Linked DNA regions of Homo sapiens: region 2 is linked to region 1. Evidence: promoter capture Hi-C in 16 types of primary human blood cells and fetal thymus (Javierre and others, 2016). All regions are on one chromosome and are shown on one strand. The core of a region is centred on a gene start or on the middle of the fragment in contact, and the rest is flanking DNA. Distances in the headings are between cores, read along the strand shown.

Evidence for each region. Contacts are between HindIII fragments. The CHiCAGO score rates a contact against its expected background, and 5 or more counts as called.
Region 2: a fragment that was not itself captured here is called in contact with the fragment with the promoter of FOXN3 in region 1 in 5 of 17 cell types (non-activated CD4 T cells, naive CD4 T cells, activated CD4 T cells and 2 more); the score reaches 8.1 in non-activated CD4 T cells.

What each region holds. Positions count from the first base shown.
Region 1 is chr14:89,415,882-89,418,891 of GRCh38, forward strand. It overlaps FOXN3 (forkhead box N3), which reads right to left and starts at 1,352. Exons shown (of 6, transcript NM_005197.4): 1 at 990-1,352. It overlaps FOXN3-AS1 (FOXN3 antisense RNA 1), which reads left to right and starts at 1,473. Exons shown (of 2, transcript NR_036500.1): 1 at 1,473-1,915. RefSeq lists enhancers at 204-498, 513-1,046, 1,047-1,579, 1,204-1,498 and silencers at 1,194-1,403, 1,444-1,733. The HindIII fragment of the contact is 2,355 bases long and covers 78-2,432 here.
Region 2 is chr14:89,726,357-89,729,379 of GRCh38, forward strand. No RefSeq gene overlaps it. Among named protein-coding and RNA genes, the nearest start is that of FOXN3-AS2, 150 kb to the left of the region's middle. The HindIII fragment of the contact is 2,177 bases long and covers 359-2,535 here.

The DNA of each region.
Region 1 (3,010 bases), core at 102-2,601:
ACCCTCTTTTGTTTTTTTTATGACTTGCTGTGTTTTGTTACCCTCTTTATTTTTTAACGGAGAAAATGCGGCAAGAAAGCTTAGTTTCTCGCCTAGTAAACAGAAGGTCTCCAAATAACTGACAAAGACATTACTGGCCCAGCTCTGAACAGATGTTCGATGCGAACTTTAAAAAGTTAAGAAATCTTCCCAGAGCCGAGCAGTAGCGAGTTTGGGGGGCCGGGTCACCCCCGCCCACCCAGCACGCGCGCGCGCGCACGCACGCGCTTCACTCTCGTCTACTGTACTTGTCAAAAACATTTCAAGGGGACCTGCGGGAGTGGCGATTGGCTGCACCCCGCGTCAATCAGCGGCGTTGCCGGGCAACGGGGGAAACTGCTCTTATCCCCATATACAGGGCAATTGGGAGCTCGCATACCTTCACTGCCGGTCAGATGTCATAAACCTTTTATTGGCCGCACCGCGGCGAGCCTCGAAAACAAATCAATAAAAGCCCGCCGTCCCCCAACTTATCCAGGGCCCAAGGAGGGTTTCAAACAGGGCCGGGATGAGGGGGGTCGGGCCTCGGGGGTCTCCGGAGACGTTCGTTGCCTGTGCCAAGTCTGCACAGTTTGGCCGGGGGGTGATCTTTGTTAGGAGCCTGTTTCTCATCTTGGGGTCTCCACTTGATCGGAACCCCCTCCCCGGCCCGGAACGGCGGGGACCCCGTCCTCCGCAGACAATACCAACTCTGTTCCTTGCGGGCGTCTTTTCGGAAACCGAGGCACCGGGAAGCAGCACGCACGTCGGGGCAGGAAACTCTTCGGACCCGGCAACTTCCCGGCTCGGGGGCTCCCGGGGTCCACACCCGACCCTCCCCCCAGGACCTGCGGGGTCCCTCGTCTTCCCAGAGCGGCGAGGTAGTCTCCAGGACCGTCTCGGACGCGCCTCCCGCCCCGGGTGCCCCCCGAGCCCACGCGGGAGCCGGCAGGAGCGGGGTGCAAACTCACCTGGCCGGAGCGGGGCACGGGGGTGCGGGGGCGCCGCTGCCCTTCAGCAGGAGCCGACAAACTTTCGCGGGCGCCCGGCGGGCATCGCTCGGTGGCCCCGCTAAGGACGCGCGGGCGCGGCGCGGCGAGCCCGGGGCGGCGGGCGGCGGGGGGCGGCCGCGGGCGCGGGCGGCAGGGGCGCGGGGGTCGCGGCGCGGCATGGGACCTGCGGCGTCCGCCGGGCGCGCCGCGCGTCCTCCCGCCGGCCCCGCCGCTCTCCCCGCCCCGTCCCGCCTCCCGCTCGCCTCCGCCGCGGCGCGTCGGGCCGGGGCGCGCCGAGCGGCGAGAAATTGTTTCCACTGCAAACAAAAAAAGGCGACACATGACCAGGCAGGAGGAGGGGAAGCGCGGGGAGGGAGGAGGGCGGAGGGAGGGACAGAGCGGAGGGCGGAGGGAGCCGGAGAAAGGGAAAACGTGGGCCTGGCCGCCAGCGGCCTGGGGCGCGGGGCACTGACCCGCCGGGGCGGACCCTGCCCGCGCCCCTCGCGCGCCCCAGCACTCAGCCAGGGCGGAGGCCGGGGCTGGGCCGCGCGGCCTCGCCTCTTGGGCCCCGCGGGGCGGGGGTGACCGGCGCGGGTCCCGCGACCCAGGGCGGCCGCGACCGTGGGCGGTGGGGCAGGTGGGTCAGGCGGCGCGTGCCCTGTCCCCTCCCCGGGCTCCGGCCACACGAGCGGGCCGGCGCTGCGCTGCTGGCAACGTGTCGCGGGAACGCTCCTACCCCATCTGCATGCCTTACATGGCTCGAAAGTAAAAATAAAAAGAATTACGATGCGGGCGAGGCTTGTGGGGGTGAGAAGAGGAGATTCCACGTCTCCCCAGTGCTGCGTCCTGATAGGACCCCCAGGGCCTTCCGAGCCCTCTCCCAGCGACCACCTCGTGTCCCGGAGGTAAGCACCGCAGCGTCCCACCCAGGTGGCCGCGTGTCTCCCGAGGGAGGGCCGGTGGCCATTACAAGACAAGAGGCACCGTCCTAAAGGCCACGCCGGTGGGGCCTCTCAAGTGGGTTGTGCGGAACGCCCCGGCCGGCCTAGAGAGAAAACAGGTCTCATTTCCATCTCAGTTTGAGCTCTCAGGAACCAGACTGACAATTCGCAAGCCACCCAGCGAAATGGTGCAGCCACCACTCTAAGTCTCTAGGCACCTCCAAATAATAGCACCCACTGCTAAAGCCACACCAACCAGCCGCCTTGGGAGAGGATGAGAGGAGAGAGTCCAACAGGACACCCTGGTGGTGACAAAAATAAAAATGTGATTGCACATTACTCCCAGGTAGCCAAATTGGTTGGTTCCTCTACAGAGGAGAAGCCCAGGGCACCCTTCCTGCCACCCCCTCCTGAGCCAGTGGACAGGACATCGTGAGCGGTCTGAAAACTACAGAAAAAAACAGCGAGTAGACCTGGAGAAAGCTTTCTAGCATGCAGTACTTTTAAACCTAGCCAAAAGGAGGGACTAAGGGAAACACCAGTTAGGCTTCTGAAAATTTTTTCTGTCTCAAAAAATAGACCCCCCCCCCCCAATCTGAGAGTCATTCCCCCTAACAAAGGTTCAAGAGGGCAGGTGACAAGTCTTCAGCAAAGATGTGCCTTTCAGACTCACCGGAGACCTTACTACTTCCAAGTTGTGTGGCATCTCCCCATCTGGAGACAATTAGGAGGTGGAAGCCCAGGGGTAGCCTGAGGTCATCCAGCCCCACCCCTTTGATTACTGAGCACTTGATGCGACCTACCCAAAGTCACTAAGCAAAAGGCACAAGGTGGCAGAGACAAGTCAGATGATCTTTGAAGTCTCACGCCAGAGATTCTCAGGGTTAGAAGTGGTAACAAAGCCAGGATGAGACAATGTGTACCCTGCTTTCCTGTAGCTCCGGCTAATGCAGGTCCTGCCCCTCCATCAGCGCGTCAGTTGAGGGTGCTTATTCTCCGCCAGAGGAACCAAGGCCAGAGACCTTTGTCCAAGCCCTTGCTGGCCTAGAGAGGACGAAG
Region 2 (3,023 bases), core at 197-2,696, 310 kb after region 1:
ACGCTGGAGTGCAGTGGCATGATCTCGGCTCACTGCAACCTCTGCCTCCCAGGTTGAAATGATTCTCGTGCCTCAGCCCCCGGAGTAGCTGCAACTACAGGCATGAACAACCATGCCTGACTAATTTTTGTGTTTTTAGTAGAGATGGAGTTTCACCATGTTGGCCAGGCTAGTCTCGAACTCCTGACCTCAGGTGATCCACCCACCTCGGCCTCCCAAAATGGTGGGATTACAGGTGTGAGCCACTGCACCCTATCCAAAAATGCCAAGCCTTTGGTTAATTCTGAATAGGGTCTAGGAATGATCTGTATGAACTGCTTTGTGGAGATCCTTTATCTTTTGGCAACAAATTGCTGAAAGCTTCCAAAGTAATTGTCACTTACCCTCTCATTACTTCACGTAAATCTAGAGACGGCATTTGTCAAAGGTGGGAAAGATGCCTCAGAGTTTGCCCTAGCCCAAGTTGTCCCAAAGTCATGTCAGTTTAGTATCACTCCTTGTAAATAAGTTACCACATACCAGACTATTCTAACCCAAAATATTCTTCAAGAAAAGGATATTCTTCCATAGGAGTATATAAACACAGGTATTTCTCTTGTCGTAAAGCCAGCATCACTGAACGTGGCAGGAGAAACTTGAGCAGTAATACAATATTCCAAGTAATTGTTAGCTGATCTCTTAATCTTCAAGGGACAGAATTCCTAGAAAACCAACAGAGCATCTTAACTATTCTAAGAAATTTTTCTGGGTTTCATGATCATTATGACCTTGCCTGCCAAATTCTCGGGAATCTACAGAAAATCTGTCATAAATTTTAAAATTATCCCTTAAAAATGTGTGTGAGATTATGTCCCCCGCCCTGCTCAAAACACTATAATGACTTCCTATGACAATTGGAAGAAAATTCGGTCCTCACCACGCCTCCAAGGTTCCTCATGGGCTGACCCTGCCTTCACGGGTAGCATGCTTGCACTGTCTCCCTGGGCTGTGGCCACTGTGGCCTCCCAGACTCCAGTCTGGAGCCCATGTACTCACTGTGCCCCTGCTGGGAGCATCCTTCCACCACTGACTCACCTACAGCCATGACTTGTTCCCTTATTCAGAGCTCTGTTCAGATGTCTTCCTTCCTCAGAGGGGTCTTCCCTGACCCCCTTGCTAGGGGCTGAATTATATTCTCACCAAATTCCTATGTTGAAGTCCTAGCCCCCACTACCTCAGGATGTGACTGTATTTGGAGACAGGGTCTGTAAACAGGTGATTATGTTGAGTTCACTTGAGTGTACCCTAATCCAATAGGACTGGTGCCCTTTTAAGAAGAGGAGGTTAGAACACAGACACTGATGTACACCAGACGTGGGTACACACAGAGACGGCCAAGTGAACACACAACAAAAGGCAGCTATACACCAAGGAGAGTCTCAGAAAGAATCAAACCTGCCGACACCTTGATCTCGGACTTCTAGACTCCAGAACTGCGCAAGAATAAATTTCTGTCATTTAAGACACATGGTCTCTGGTATTTCGTTATGGCAGCTCTAACAAACAAATACACCCCTCAACCTGAGAGCTACTTCCCTGACTTTACCCTGTATCCTGCCGTATGTCTCCTCATAGCACATGATAATATGTTCCTATTTATTTATGCATGATCGTCTCTCTCCCCTGTGTACAATGAAAGCTCCTTGACAGTAGGCACTTGGTCTTGTTCTCTGCTGTATTCCCGTGTCTAAAGTAGTACCTGACACATAGTAGGCATTCAATAAATATTTGATTAACAAATTACTAAATATATATTAAATAATGCACTGTAGCTAACTCTAATAGGAGCTTTGAGCAGCATATACACAGATACTGAGGTCTCATGTTTAAATCAAATGAACCAACTTATTCCCTAAATGTATAGTAACTTGTATTGAAATGACTATAATCTTGGCAGGCACCTTGTAAATGACATTGAAATAGACCTAATAACTAGAGAGGCACTGAGAGGAAGCTGTGAATATGAAATCAAATTCAAGAACATATATGTATATTTTTTTGCTGCTTTCATGGTCATTAAACTATATTTGGAATAATTAGGAAAAAACACACCACAAAGAAGCTAATGTTCAAAAGGCAGAGATACTTGAAAGTCTTTGAACACCTCACTAGAAATAATTTAACCAAATAAGATTAAAATTCCAGATCAAAGGTAGCAAAAATAAAGGGAAGAAAGGCAGTTGTGAGACTTCCCATTCCCACACATGTTTAACACTATGCAAATGATGAATAGACATGGGGTTCCCATAGCAAATAATTCCATTTCCAACATCTATAAGGAATAGCGTTGCATCACTGTTCTTGGAAATATAGCTGGTAGTTTCCATCACTCATGATCTGAATGATCTAGGAGCACATAAACAATAGAGAAAAAGAATGATACTGAAGGATGAATCTTTACTATTGTGTAATAAATCAGCAAATATGTAGTGACTACCTGCTTCTATGTGAAATTCTATCCATGGTGTTATAGGAAAATCCACCATTATATTCAAAAGCTTCATGCAATTTACATAGTCAAGGAAATCTATACTGAATGGCACTGGGCATTAAGCCCCTTGCTGGAATGTAAGCTAGGGTCACGACACTGACTCACCTGTGTATTTCAAGATCCTTACACATAATTAGTGCTCCATTAATATTTTTTGAATGAATAAAATGAATATCAAAATAAAAGTCAACGTATGGCTGCACTTCAGAAATGTAACAGCAATGGCTCAGCTTCTTGAGTCATGAATTCAAAGCTGTTAAACAAACAAAACCAGGCTACTGGTCATCCAATTCAGTGACATAGATTACCTGCAACTTTGAGATCAGATAATATCCAGTGTCTACCATGGACGGCTCTCCTGGCAGTGACAGGGAATGTCTGTCATTTTTGTCTCCCTTGTATGTGTTCTGTCCTTCAAACTGAGGCGAGGGAACAGCATCTAGATTTCCCTTTCCACATTCTCGGGTCATATAGTTTGAGTGGAGTTGAACCC